Regions from separate parts of the Homo sapiens genome. Here regions 2 and 3 are each linked to region 1. Evidence: promoter capture Hi-C in 16 types of primary human blood cells and fetal thymus (Javierre and others, 2016). All regions are on one chromosome and are shown on one strand. The core of a region is centred on a gene start or on the middle of the fragment in contact, and the rest is flanking DNA. Distances in the headings are between cores, read along the strand shown.

Region 1 (4,762 bases), core at 1,456-3,955:
TTTGTATTTTTAGTAGAAATGGGGTTTCACCATTTTGGCCAGGCTGATCTCAAACCCCTGACCTCAAGTGATCCGTCCACCTCATCCTTCCAAAGTGCTAGAATTACAGGCATGAGCCACCTCGCCTGGCCCTACGTATTGAATTTTTTTACGTGGCATTAGCTTTTAAATCAAAGCTACCACCAAAAGCCAGCTTTGCAAAGAGAGTATATCACTGAGAACCACGTACAACATGTAACGCTGGTGAGTTTTAATTATACCTCAGTAAACTTGACTTAAAAAAAAAGACATTCCCAGATTTTGGCACAACGGAAGCGTTATAATCTTCTATTCATTTCTGGCAAGAGTATAAATAAGTTCAAAAACTTTGGAAAATTGTTTGCCTGTATATTCTAGTGGTAAAACACACATACATATATGCTATGACCCAGAAATTCAACTTTTCTACCCCATAGACTTGTGCTTTCCAATATGATAGCCACAAACCACGGGTAGCTATTGAACACTTGAAATCTTGCTAGTGTCACATGGGGTAATGATAATACCTTAAATATATTTAGTTGAATATATATTATAAAAAATAATTTCACCTCTTTCTTTTTACTTTTTAAAACATGTCTACTAATACATTTAAAAGTACGTATATGCCTGGCATTATATTTCTATTGGAATTTCTATTTCTAGAGAAACGTGAATATGGTTTACCAAAGACATGTAAAACAAATACATATTTATTCAAAATATTCCTAAACTATAAAGAATTCAAATGTCTGAGGAAAGAAAAGAAATTTTATGTGAGGAAAGTGAGTGCTTTCAAATTAACAAGCCCAGAGTTAGGCATTAAAATGAGACAGCAACAACGTCTTATGTCCCTGTTTTGAAGCCGTGTATTCATCTATTAAAACAGCTTGCTATCATCACAAGTGGCTATAAAGCAACCTAAACATGCTGCACTGGACACCATCTCTCACTCCCTGTAGCTGAACAATGTATAGCTAATCATTAATCAATGTTATTTCTGTAAACTTCAGGGAGTTCCTGACAGGCAATTTTGTACCAGCCAACTCCCCGTCTCCCTTTTTGGTCTTTAGAAACCTGCTTGTAACAAAGGGCAAATGGAGCCCACATCCAAGATTGCTTGGATCTGAGTCTTCCAGGCAAGTGTCCTCACATTGGCTCAAACAAACTTTTTAAATCATGTTTGTGCTTAAGCCCCTTCCTTCTAGGTCGACGTTTTTGGCCCAGGGAGCAGAATGCAGAGCGACTCATCTCTGACCATCTGACTGTCCTCTCAAAGGCCTCCAGGGTGGCTACATAGTAGTAAGAATTTGATTGGTGAGATCAGTTTGCAGTCCAGGAAGAGACAGTCTCCGGTGTGTGTCTTTGAAGAGGTGCTTTCTCTTCAGAGAGAGAGAGAGAGAGGGCAGGTTGGTTTTTGTGCCTCACACGGTGTGTATCACACAATGGAGTTATACATATTCAGCAGGTTTGGAGAAACGCCATTTCTGAGGGGTGTTGAGCTCATGTGCAACGGGTAAACATATATGTAACGTGCACCCCATCTTCACATTGGGAAGAGATTTTAGCATTAAAATTAGATGGAAATTGGCTCTTTATGTCAAAAGGTGAACTATAGGACATGAAGTCGGTTTGTGTGCAGTCCCTGTAACATGGCTGAAACTGGCTTGAGGTCTGCAGTTGCTTATCAGGAAAGAATGGAAGGGCACTCCTCTGTCCCATCAGAGGTCTGGTGATCTGGGTTGTAAATCCAGTTGAGAATTGCTGGGAAGATTTTGACAATTTGCCTGCTAGCTCCTATTGTTAAGGAGTTTAGCAAGAGTGTGGTTTTTCTTCTAGCCACAGAAATTTAGGAAGTTGCTATGCCAGTCCAGCCCTGAATCCTTGACCCGTAGGTAACTCTTGTTTTCTTAACCTTAGAGTCTGTCTTAGTCTACAAGGTGACATCTATTTTTGTCTCTCAGACCACATTCCTCCTGGACTAGGTGCCTGGCCAGCTTTGAAATCCTCACGTTCTGACTCAGAGAAACAGATGGGCAGTAAGTGGTGAATCCTCCTGAAATCTGGACCTTCCCACTCTTTGGTTGAAGGCCTGGAGTTTGCTTGAGTTGTCCTTTCCAGCCTTCCCTTTCTACAATGGAGGTTTTCTGTCTTTACCCTCCAGTTAAGAGACTTGAGTTTCAGGGGGAAAAAACTGCCCTTTCCACCTCTGCCTCAGGACAGAAAGTTTGGGTCACAGTCAGGCAAAGGACTGTGTGGAAAGCTTCTGCCTTTTCTGCCTCTGTCCCTCATCAGGAAGGTCTGGGTCAAGATATTGGCAGGTAGGCACCGGTGGTTTTGTTTTCTGTAGCATGCTTTTATGAAAGTTTGAACTTAGGTTTTCACTTGTGACTAATTCTTGTTAGTTTTTTTTTTTTTCCTTGAGATGGAGTTTTGCTCTTGTTGCCCAGGGTGGAGTGCAATGGCGGGATCTCGGCTCACCGCAACCTCCGCCTCCTAGGTTCAAGTGATTCTCCTGCCTCAGCCTCCCAAGTAGCTGGTTTTACAAACGTGCCACCACGCCCAACTAATTTTGTGTTTTTAGTAGATACAGGGTTTCTCCATGTTGTTCAGGCTGGTCTCAAACTCCTGACCTCAGGTGATCTGCCCACCTCGGCCTCCCAAAGGGCTGAGATTACAGGCGTAAGCCAATGTGCCCGGCCCCTGTTAGTTCTTACCTGGAAAATGCACGGAGGTACTTTCTCCAGCCCTGAAGAAAAGAAGTGATCTGCTCCCGATGACCCTTTCAGGGGCTACAAGTGACCAGGGACGCTGCAGAGGTGTCACGGTCACTACTCACCATGTGAAGGCGGCCTCGTAGAGCATTCCCCATCAGAAGAACGTCTTTATGAATCCCCTTTCCTGCTCTTATGGGAGGGTATATGAGCGATGGGTCCCCCAGAGCAGATGCACTCTGTGGCCACCTGGTGGTTAGAAACAGTGGGAGCCACTGAGACAGTGATACACAACTCCGGTGATATCTGTAGGAGTGACTACATAAGCAGGACACTGTGACCCAAAACACATCCCAGATTTTGGTCATCTTTGCAAAGCTCCTGAATTATGGGAAATCAAGCTTCAAAATCTGAGCATACTTTGAAGAAACAACCGCGTTTAGAACCACCAGCTGAGTTTCTGTATAACAGTTATGAAGCATCCTCTTGTAAATATCCAAGAAACCTGACCCACCTAACCAGAAAAACTCATAAGTAGAATGGAGAAAATGGGGATCTTTTGAAATGACTAAAATAATTTATTAGGGCACACAATTGGAAAAATTTGGTTTTAGAATCAGGCAAATTGAATGGGAGACTTACTTCCAATGATACCTAGAAATTTCTAAAAGAACTACTGAGAAAATTGCCTCCATTGAGGATTTAAACTGGGGATATCTGATGCTTTTTCTGAATTGAGAAATATTGAGGAGGCTTTGTCTCTTTCGCCTCCAACTGCTCCTTTTCCTCCTGCCCCTGCACCTGCATAGTCTCCCTTACCTGAGCCCTCCTGTCCTGCCTTGCCTCTTCTTCCATCACCATCACCTGAGGAAAGTCCCCAGGGCTCTGGCCCCTTCCCTGAAAGTTCTGTTCTGGCAGCCCCTTTCAAGGTAAAACCCACAGGAAGAGGGGAGCCTGCTATTGTGTATACTGCTTCACCATAATGTGAATTAAGAATATTGTAAAAGACTTCCCTTTTCTAAATTGAAATACATTTTCCTCTTCTCTTTCTAAAGCAGGCTCTGCTTTAGATTTAGAAGTAGATTGGAGGAGAATTTAGCAATGCACTTAAAAGGCCAAATAAATCTGTCATTGATATTTTAAATGGTTGAAAATAATTTATTTATTTATTTATTGAAACAGGTTCTCACTCTGTCACCCACGCTGGAGTGCAGTGGCTCCATCATGGCCCACCACAGCCTCAAACTTCTGGGCTCTAGCAATCCCCCCACCTCAGCCTCCGAGTAGATGAGGCCACAGGTGCATGCCACCACACCTGGCTAATTCTTCAACTTTTTATAGAGAGGAGGTCTCACTTTGGTTTCCAGGCTGGTCTTGAACTCCTGGGCTCAGTCAATCCTCCCGCGTCAGCCTAATATTTACACTGACCACGGAGATGCATTTGGAGAAGGTGGTGATTTTGGAATGCTTTAGAAGCAACCTAGGTTTCTTATTTCACCAGGTCAACCCATCAAAAATGACCAATAAGTCTCTGAACTCTTAGGAGCAATTTGAAAACCCAAATCTTTGGCCATCATCAAAATTCCTTGTCATTCAAAATTAGGTACTCTGGAGAGCAAGGACAACCATTTTGCTGATGCTGCAGCTAAGAATGCAGCTCTGAAGGTGACAAGAGACACAGAACTTCTCTAAATGACCTTGCTGACTTATGACCCATTGAAAACGTTATTAGAAGAAGCACACGTGGGATCTCCCAAGCAGAAGATAGATCTCTGGCAAGATAAAGGGAACAAGTTTTTCTTCAGAAACAGGCGTATGGTATGGGCCCAATGATACACTGATCTACCCCTTAGGCTTCAATTACCCTTTTTAAAGTAGTTCATAAGCTGACTCATTGGAATTCAGACTAAATGATAGCATGGGGAAAGCAGTGCTATTGAAAACCATCGCCTATGATTGCACAAGAGGTTTATTCTTGTAGTACTATCTGTTCTGTCCCAAACATAATCCTGGAAAACCCCTTCATGGGT
Region 2 (4,762 bases), core at 1,110-3,609, 1.1 Mb before region 1:
AAAACGACAATCAGAACTACAGTTTGATGTTTAAGTAAAATGTTGAGTTTAGAAGTAAAGAGGCTACATTGAGAACTATAAAATTTTAGACTTAAATGAGACCTTAGGAATTATCTGATTTTCAGACAATCTGAAAATTATATGAATAATTTTCTTAATTCACAAATGCCAAGACTGAGGTGAGAGATAAGAATAATACAAAATAGGCCCCAATTCAGACAGAGCAACCTGGCTTTTAATCAGGACACCAATTACTGCAGTCACAGTTCGACAAATACACTGTATTTAAATCCTGAGTCATCAACATAGGAAAAGGGTAAAAATATAATGAGGCGGATCACCTTTCGAAAGCTTTGAAGAAGTAAATTCAGATGGCTTGTAGATAGCCCAAATAAGAATGGAGAATTGGAGAATAAACCCCAATAAGTGCTCCTTTTAATCACTCTCACTTCTCTGTGATTATGGTTGGTTTTTTTGTTTTTTTGTTTTTTTGTTTTGAGAGTCTGTCACCCAGGCTGGAGTGCAGTGGTTTGATCTAAACTCACTGCAACCACCGCCTCCCGGGTTCAAGCGATTCTCCTGCCTCAGCCTCCCGAGTAGCTGGGACTACAGGCATGCACCAGCATGCCCGGCTACTTTTTCTGTATTTTTAGTAGAGACGGGGTTTCACCATGTTGGTCAGGCTGGTCTCGAACACCTGACCTCAAATGATCCAACCGCCTCGGCCTCCCAAAGTGCTGGGATTACAGGCGTGAGCCTCTGCGCCAGGCTGTGATGATGTTATCAATTGAGATCCAAAGAAATAAATCATGGAATCCAAATTCCATGTGCTACCAATATGGCAAACAATACTCTATTCACTCTCTAAAGCCCCAGTTCCCTGGGAAGTGATGAAATGATAGGAAACATCAAACACACCCGAATCTCCTCAAGCCCTCCATTTTTCTATCTCATCCAGTCAGTCTACCTGGAGGAATTACTTGTATTTCATGCTGACAGCTCTGAAAGCCATTAGAAACATTAGAATGGTAATCGCTGCTATCAGCTCCATCTGTCCTTTCTTACAGAGTGAAAACAAGTTGTTCTCTTCCTGAAAGTCCTTGGAATTGAGAGCAAGGTCTTCAGGGCAGCTGTGGGTTGTCGTTTTTTTAGCCACGCAACATTTTGAAGTACTACTGAGGAGTAAACAAGTCGTGGAATCATTGGCTCTTCCACCTACGGAGCAGCAGCGGGGCGTGAAAGAGGCACAGCCTCAGCCACCACAACTATAAAGTATGGGACAAAAATTAAGCAGTCAACTAAATGATGTCCTTAATTGATCCCCAAGACTAGGAGAAAGTATTCAATAAGCAAGTAGTTGCTGCTTACAGCCGTGCCAAAAGGGAAGAGGATCACAACTGTAGAGCTGCTAGAAGAGCAAAAATGATACTGATACATAGAAATTTTCAGAAAAAGAATTTCATTTAGCCACCTCAGGGCAAAGGTGAGAAACTACCACCTATGGTCAGCAACTCGTGCAACCTACCCTCTGAAGTTGTCCACCAGGGATTACAAACTACAAATTCAGCAACGCTATGGAAGAGAGCCATTCGTGCTCGGAGGATCGGGGATGGGGGGATGTCTATTGTCCCCATCCTAAAAATGTGGCCAACAGATTAGTCAGAACACCAGGAAAGCAAGAACTCCGCCTCTTTATCCTATTTTGAGGCGGCACTTCAAGAGGAATTATCATCCAACACCTCTGTCCCCGATAAATCCCTTTAATTCAAAAAACCATAGCCCGGTTCGGCGCGGTAGAAAAGAACCAAGAAAGGGAAGAGGAGCCCAGAAATCAACCCGCTGCAGTACTGACACCAACTGCGGGCATGGGACGCTTACCTTGGAGTCAGGGAGGCTGAACACGCTGGGGTCGTCCGTACTCCCCACCATGATCTTGTGCTCCTTCCCCGGGGCATGGCCGCCTGCGCCCTCGGAGCGTGCAGCCTTGGCGCCGTGGCGCTCCCCGGACACCCGGTCGCTGGTGGTGTTTCCCATGGCTGCAGCTCGTCGGGGACCACCTACCGCGGGGAACGACACCGGGCTGGGAACACCTCAGCCGCCGCGTCAGGGGCGCCCCCCGGCCCCGCCCCTGCGCCTCGGGACAGGGCAAGGGATTCCCCGCCCCAGGGAAGCCGAGCCCTGGAGCCCTCTCCCTCCTGGCCTGCGGGAACGCCTGCAAATACCCCGGTGCCCTCACTGGCCCTAGCTCAGGAAACCCGCTATCGGGACCTCCCCCGCGTCCCCGCGCTCACTGCCAGGGGCGCCCCCACTCCAGTCACCTCGGGCGATGCGCTCCCTCCTCCAAGGGCCACTGATGTGATGGCTGTTCTGCAGATCAGGCCACCAATAAAGTTATTGAAATTGAAGCCGCACCCCTCGCTGGCGACCAGCGATTCCTCCTAAAATGGCTACAAGGCCGGCGGCGCGGAGTCCGCCCAGTGCGCGTTCCCTGCGGCCTGCAGCCTCGGCGCCCGGGACCCGCCGGCCTCTCTAGCCGCCGCCGCCGCCGCCTCGATGGTGGGCAGTCGCACGCAGCCTCCAGCGCCAGGAGGGGGCGCCAGGCAGGGCCTGTCCCGCCTGGGGAGACTGCGCCCGGGATAATAGGAGCGCTTGGCCTCTGAGACTACCCGGCAGAAGGGACGTCCCCAAATGACACTCGGAGGCCGCCTCCCTGGGCTCCGGTGCTCGGTGCCGGGAGGAGCGGCACGGCTTTCTACCCCGCCTCAGGTGCGCCAGCACGTTTTCTGGGCAGCATCTGTGTGTTAGGCGACCGGAGAGGTGGGTTCCTTATAGGGAATAAGAAAACTGAAACTGACTTCCAACTGCAGGCAGAAGGAAGCAGTGGTCATTGCTGGAGGTTAAAACTGTTCTGACCGGGCGCAGTGGCTCACGCCTGTATTCCCAGCACTTTGGGAGGCTGAGGCGAGCAGATCACGAAGTCAGGAGATCAAGACCATCCTGGCCAACAAGGTGAAACCCCGGCTCTACTAAAAATACAAAAATTAGCTGGGCGTGGTGGCGCGCGCCGGAAGTCCCAGCTACTTGGGAGGATGAGGCAGAAGAATCGCTTGAACCCGGGAGGCGGAGGTTGCGGTGAGCCGAGATCGCGCCATTGCACTCCAGCCTGGCGACTCAGCGATACTCCGTCCCCCTCTCCCCGCCCCAAGAAAAATCTGTTCAGTGGGGAGCGACAAGGAAGGAGCTTTCAGCCCGACTGGGGTCGCAGGGAAGAATTCAAGATGGCGTGTTTAGGAGCTCTAGCTCCTTGACAAATTAGTAAAATGTTAGTCTTAGGAGAAGAACGAAAAGGCTCTCCTAGGCTAAGAAACAGCATACACAGTGAGAAACCTCAGAAGAAATAAAATTCAAGGAAGATAGCAACAACGAAAACATCAGAAGGAACACTAAAGGTATAAAAAGGGCAAAGACAGCCCTAGGGTTGGGAGGGATCCAGGTTTTTTATGAAAATTAGTGGAATCCCTAAGGTACTTACCTTTGTATTATAAGTATTTGCATGTCTCCTTCTAGAAACGTTTATCACTCTGTGTTACACAGACCAGCAGTGTTGGCGTCAACTGGGAGCCTGTTAGAAATGCAGAATCAGGCCCCATCCCCAGGGTTCTGAATCTGCATTTTAACAAGATCACATTAAAGTGTGTGAGAAGCAATGCTTTGACAGCTGGCAGAGAGCAGATCCAGATTTGATACCTTTTCATATTCTGCATGTACCTTATACAGAGTAGGCTTTTGCATTTGCGGAATGAAGGATACAGGAATACTGTTTACTGTAATCCATTTCTAACCAGATATGCCACTTAGGCTTAAACACGGCCAATGATGGGGAACCCCAAGTTACATAGGCCACCCTTTCTGAGTGAGCAGCTCTATTTGCTGAAACGTTCATTTTTATATTATGAAGTTGACATCCCACTTAAGTACAACAAATTCACTACTCCCCTATTCTTTGCTCTGCCTCTTATAAACTCATTCTTTGGCTCATAAACCAAAGACAGTTTACAGGAAGAAAAAAAAAAGGTACGATTTTACTGCAACTTCTTGCTCACCCCTCCAAAATCTTTATGTCTGAGTACATGCTTTTTGGTTATCCCTACTTTTCTCCCTCCACCCCTCAATTCCTTACCATAGGACACTGAAGCAAGGCCCTTGAAGATACATAATACATTAAACCTTGACTTGTGTAGTATTCAGTTTTCTGACCCCAAGGTGGTTTCACCATGCCAAATAATATGTCCTTGGTATGTATTTCCTTGCAGTAGTCAAATCAGCCTAGCAGAAACAAAGTACGTTAACCAATGGAAAACTGACGGAGAGAAATAAACTGTTTTTGCACAGCTAAATGGAAATGACTTTTGAATTATCTGCTTTGGAAGATTATCCATGACACTGTTCTGCCCTGCTCTGCTCTAACAACATTTGTAAGTCACTCAACAGTTAATAATAAAAGTCAGTTTTGAATATTGCAGGTTTTAGACACAGAACAAATGTAATGTGACACTGTAGGAAGAATGAATTCTCCTTAGTCCCAAATTCCTTTTTTTTTTCTTAGATTCGGGAATAAGTAAAGATACAAGATCCTCTTAACCAGTATCAGTATAATTGTTCCCTTTAGATTTATTGCTGTCACCCCAATGCTCTTCTTTCTTTCTAGAGGAAAGGAAAAGAAGGAGGTAATAGGAAAAGTAATGGGTTGTCCTGATGTTAC
Region 3 (4,762 bases), core at 1,505-4,004, 1.0 Mb before region 1:
CATGAGCAGCCACATAGGACAGAGGTCCCTCTGGAGAAGCCACCAAAGGATATAAATCTCTCTTCAGGTTTGTTTTGAGAAAACACCCAAGCAGGAAAGCTGCTGTACAAAATTACTATTGCCCCATTATGCGATTGTGTTTTACTTTTGTCTTAGCATTAATCCTACCTTGTGGGGAAAAGAAAGAGAGCTCAGACTGCTACTGTGTCTGTGTAGAAAGAAGTAGAAATAAGAGACTCCATTTTGGTCTGTTCTAAGAAAAATTCTTCTGCCTTGAGATGCTGTTAATCTGTAACCCTACCCCCAACCCTGTGCTCCCTGAAACATGGGCTGTGTCCACTCAAGGTTAAATGGATTCAGGGCTGTGCAGGATGTGCTTTGTTAAACAAATGCTTGAAGGCAGCATGCTTGTTAAGAGTCCACTCCCTAATCTCAAGTACCCAGAGACACAATACACTGCGGAAGGCCGCAGGGACCTCTGCCTAGGAAAGCCAGTTATTGTCCAAGGTTTCTCCCCATGTGATAGCCTGAAATATGGCCTTGTGGGAAGGGAAAGACCTGACCGTCCCCCAGCCTGACACCCATAAAGGGTCTGTGCTGAGGAGGATTAGTAAAAGAGAAAGGAAGGCCTCTTTGCAGTTGAGATAAGAGGAAGGCATCTGTCTCCTGCTCATCCCTGGGCAATGGAATGTCTCGGTGTAAAACCCGATTGTATATTCCATTGACTGAGATAGGAGAAAACCACCTTAGGCCTGGAGGTGGGACATGTGGGCAGCAATACTGCTCTTTAAGGCATTGAGATGTTTATGTGTATGCACATCAAAAGCACAGGACTTTTTTCTTTACCTTGTTTATGATGCAGAGACATTTGTTCACATGTTTTCATGCTGACCGTCTCTCCACTATTACCCTATTGTCCTGCCACATCCCACTCTCTGAGAAATGCCCGATAATGATCAATAAATACTAAGGGAACTGAGGCTGGTGCCAGCGCAGGTCCTCTGTATGCTGAGCGCCGGTTCCCTGGGCCCACTTTTCTTTCTCTATACTTTGTCTCTGTGTCTCTTTTTTTTCTTAAGTCTCTCATTCCACCCGACGAGAAATACCCACAAGTGTGGAGGGGCAGGCCACCCCTTCACTACCTGATTTTTATTTATTGCTTGTCTCCTCCTTTTAAAATGTAAGATCCAGGAGATAAGTGGCCTCTATCTTCAGTACCATAGAGTGCTTGGCACATAGTATGTAATTCAGTCAGTGTCAGGCCTCTGAGCCCAAGCTAAGCCATCATATCCCCTGTGACCTGCACGTACACATCCAGATGGCTGGTTCCTGCCTTAACTGATGACATTCCACCACAAAAGAAGTTTAAATGGCCCGTCTTTGCCTTAAGTAATGACATTACCTTGTGAAAGTCCTTTTCCTGGTTCATCCTGGCTCAAAAAGCTCCCCTACCGAGCACCTTGTGACCTCTCACTCCTGCCCGCCACAGAACAAACCCCCTTTGACTGTAATTTTCCTTTACCTACCCAAATCTTATAAAACGACCCCACCCCTATCTCCCTTCGCTGACTCTTTTCGGACTCAGCCCACCTGCACCCAGGTGAAATAAACAGCTTTATTGCTCACACAAAGCCTGTTTGGTGGTCTCTTCACACGGACGCGCATGAAAGTCAGTATTTATGAATGACTCAAGACACAAAAATAGCTTCATAAAACAGTGCTTTGCTTGAGTTTTTATGAATAAACCAATCTGAAGTCATCCCTTTTCTAGCTCAGAACAAATTTCTCCCTTTTATTTTAGAGGAAGATGAGAATGGAGGGTACAAATTTAACATGAGTTTACTGAAGAAGGAAGCACCAAGATTAACCTAAATGAGAATACTATTCTAATGACATTAGCCAGAGAATAATATCGTTCCTGTTCCAGTACTGCCAATTACCATTACAAGTCCCAATATCTTCATTTACAATGTGGGGACAATTATAACACCTAATTATTGGTTATTGTGAAGGTTAAATAAGAAAATATACTTAAAGCCCTTAGGACACCACCCAGAACTTCATCAATAAATGCAGCTATTTTGTTATTATCATATTTATATTAGTGGTATACTACATCATAAATCCACTCAAAGCTGATGCTGAGTCACGGTGACCCCTAACTGAACACATTGCCTCAATCTGCTCCCCATAATGCACTTGAGATACCCACTGCCACAATGACGTCTTTGGTGATTTTAATTTACTACTATTCAGAGGTTCCCAATTTTGGCCTACAGGTCACAGGCAGTAAGAAAGGGATTTCAGGGACTAAATCAATTTATCACTAGGTAAACCGAACAAGAACAGTTTGATCTTATCGTGAATCACTGGAGGGCACGGAACAAGTCTTACTTCTAGAACCCCCAGGGCCCAGCGGAGTGTCTGACACATGATAGTCGATGTTGATTAAATAATAAATGAATGATGAACACATGCCACCTCCTTGACGGGCAGTTCAGGCAATCAGACGTCCTGTGCGTGATCAGACGCCTAGCGCTTCAGAAGCACGACTGGTGAGAACTGGGCAGCCCTTCCACGCTCCGCACTGCAAGAACTGCCTGTCCGGAAGGGTGACTGCACCAGCTCCGCTCCGGATATCTTGGCAGGACGCGCCCTCTGGCGGCGCCTCGCTCGTAGGTGGGCCCCAGCGCGCAGTCGCGCGCCCCCGCGCGTTGGGAAGTTGGGAGGGAGGTGCGCGCTTGGCCGCGCGGGGCGGGGCCTCTACCGGCCCGATGGAGCGCGCGGGCGCTACTAGCCGCGGGGGCCAAGCCCCTGGCTTCTTACTGCGGCTTCATACTGAGGGCCGAGCCGAGGCGGCGCGGGTGCAGGAGCAGGACTTACGGCAGTGGGGGCTGACAGGTGAGCGGGCTCCGGGCGGACTTCGGCCAGGCGGGCCAACCTATTGGGACTGCCTCTTGCGGGCCGGGGGCGCAGCGGGTGGGCCGCCCGGTGGGCAGTTTACCCGCTCGCGCCAGGGCCTTCCTTCGCTCCTGCCGTGGGCGGAGAGAAACTGCGCCCGGGCTTGGTGGCCACGGCCCCCGCCTGCGCGGCGCGCGGGGCCGGCGGACGCCAGATGAATGAGGTCGCGGGCCCGGTAGCCAGGCCTGGCCCCTGGCCTGTGGAGGGGAAACGTGGTGAGATCAGCGCCACCTGCAGGCCTCCGCTGAAGAGTTGGACGGCCTGGTGCACCAAGGATGTAGGTTTCCAGTTGCTGTTCCGGTGGGTTTGGGTCCCGGCCTGGGGAGTTTATTGGTTGCTTCTGTAAAACGATCAACTCATCTCCCAGCTTCAGCTTCTCCGTTTACTGTGCGCGCGCAGTTATTGGAGAATTCGCCACGGATTAATTCTCCGGATCGAGTTACGTGCGGTAGTGAGCGGACAAACTCAAGCAAAGCACTGTTTATGAAGCTATTTTTGTGTCTTGAGTCATTCATAAATACTGACTGAACCACGTACTATATGCCAACTTAGCTTGTCCGCTCACCACCGCACGTAACTCGATTTATTGACACTAGCCCTTACGGAGAGTCTGCAAAGCGCGAACCTTGCATGCCCCCCAGCCCTGCCGCTGCATGGCTGACCGTACTTCCTGCAGCTCCGAGACCCCGCTCTCCTCCTGGGTCTGCGCTGACTCGCCGCTGAACCGCCCCAGCCTCGTTTTCCTTACTTATAAGTTGGGAACGTAGTGTGTGCTTTGACTGTATTGACAGAATCATGCATCAGTAATAATACAGTCGTTTATTCATTACTTATTGAATGCTACTGGGAGCGTATTCTTAGGCATTGGCTACAAAGATGAGCAAAACAAATAGGGACCCTTCCTACCTAGAGTTTTAGACTAGTGAGAGTGCATTTAAAAGTATAAACTAATTTATTTAAGTGCTCAGTACCACGAAAGAGTAAGGTTTGTCATTCTAGGAATGAAACAAAAGGTGCAATTCTGTGTTCAGCTTAGAAGACTGAAAGATGAAGTTGAATGGAGAGGACGCTGACATGAAAGAGAAAGACCTCTCTCCTTGATTCCCTGAGTCTGTAAGAATGTGTGGCTGTAAGGAGTATGTATCCAGTTTTAAGTATGAGCTTGTAGACTGGTCTTTTTATGTTTGACTTTATCTTAACGAAAGTTTATGTTTGTGGGTTTGCCTATTTCCTTGCAAGTGTTGGGAATGGTTCTTTAAGAACTTGTGTGAGAGAGGGCTCAGAAAAGTGTGCCAGTTGATACTTAGCTGTGGATAATATGCCAGGAGAAACGTACATATGGGCAAGTGTTTTAGTGAAAATGAGGAGACAAGAGGTTGCAAGTTTGAGTGGATGGAATGGAGTGAGTAAATTCAGAATTAAGTAGGCAAATGTGGCAACTTGGATAAATTGGTAGTGGAGAAGGAAAATAGAAAAGCAGAGTCAAAGGAATGGCTACTGAATATTATAACTTGTAATTTCTATTTCTGTTTACCAGAATAAACTAGTGTTATGAGAAACTATTCTTCATGAGTTGGTTAAAAAAATTCTTACTACTTTTTTTTCGTTTGGTTACAGAAGTAGTACGTATTTTCAGTAAAACATTCAGGGAAATAGCCTATGCATAAAGAAAATAAATATTAATCTCCATAATCTCCTTACTGTTAACATGTTCTCTATCCTGTATAATTTCTTTTACTTTCTGGTGGAGGGGGAAGGTGAAAAATGGAGTTTCATGTACATTTTTTTGGGAAATCATAAC

What was found. The method cuts DNA at HindIII sites, captures the fragments that hold promoters and counts their contacts. A CHiCAGO score of 5 or more calls a contact.
Region 2: a contact is called between the fragment with the promoter of PRKAB2 here and a fragment that was not itself captured in region 1, in 3 of 17 cell types (naive CD8 T cells, erythroblasts and total B cells). The highest score is 10.4, in naive CD8 T cells.
Region 3: the fragment with the promoter of CHD1L here is called in contact with a fragment that was not itself captured in region 1 in 1 of 17 cell types (naive CD8 T cells); the score reaches 6.9 in naive CD8 T cells.

The regions. Positions count from the first base shown.
Region 1 is chr1:148,252,072-148,256,833 of GRCh38, forward strand. No RefSeq gene overlaps it. Among named protein-coding and RNA genes, the nearest start is that of TRQ-CTG4-1, 11 kb to the right of the region's middle. The HindIII fragment of the contact is 852 bases long and covers 2,280-3,131 here.
Region 2 is chr1:147,170,111-147,174,872 of GRCh38, forward strand. It overlaps PRKAB2 (protein kinase AMP-activated non-catalytic subunit beta 2), which reads right to left and starts at 2,360. Exons shown (of 8, transcript NM_005399.5): 1 at 2,319-2,360; 2 at 1,879-2,057. The coding sequence starts at 2,034. It also overlaps a transcript of CHD1L not described here. RefSeq lists silencers at 2,020-2,289, 2,460-2,689. The HindIII fragment of the contact is 16,401 bases long and covers 350-4,762 here.
Region 3 is chr1:147,239,930-147,244,691 of GRCh38, forward strand. It overlaps CHD1L (chromodomain helicase DNA binding protein 1 like), which reads left to right and starts at 2,755. Exons shown (of 23, transcript NM_004284.6): 1 at 2,755-2,901. The coding sequence starts at 2,775. RefSeq lists a silencer at 2,587-3,206. The HindIII fragment of the contact is 18,027 bases long and covers 1-4,762 here.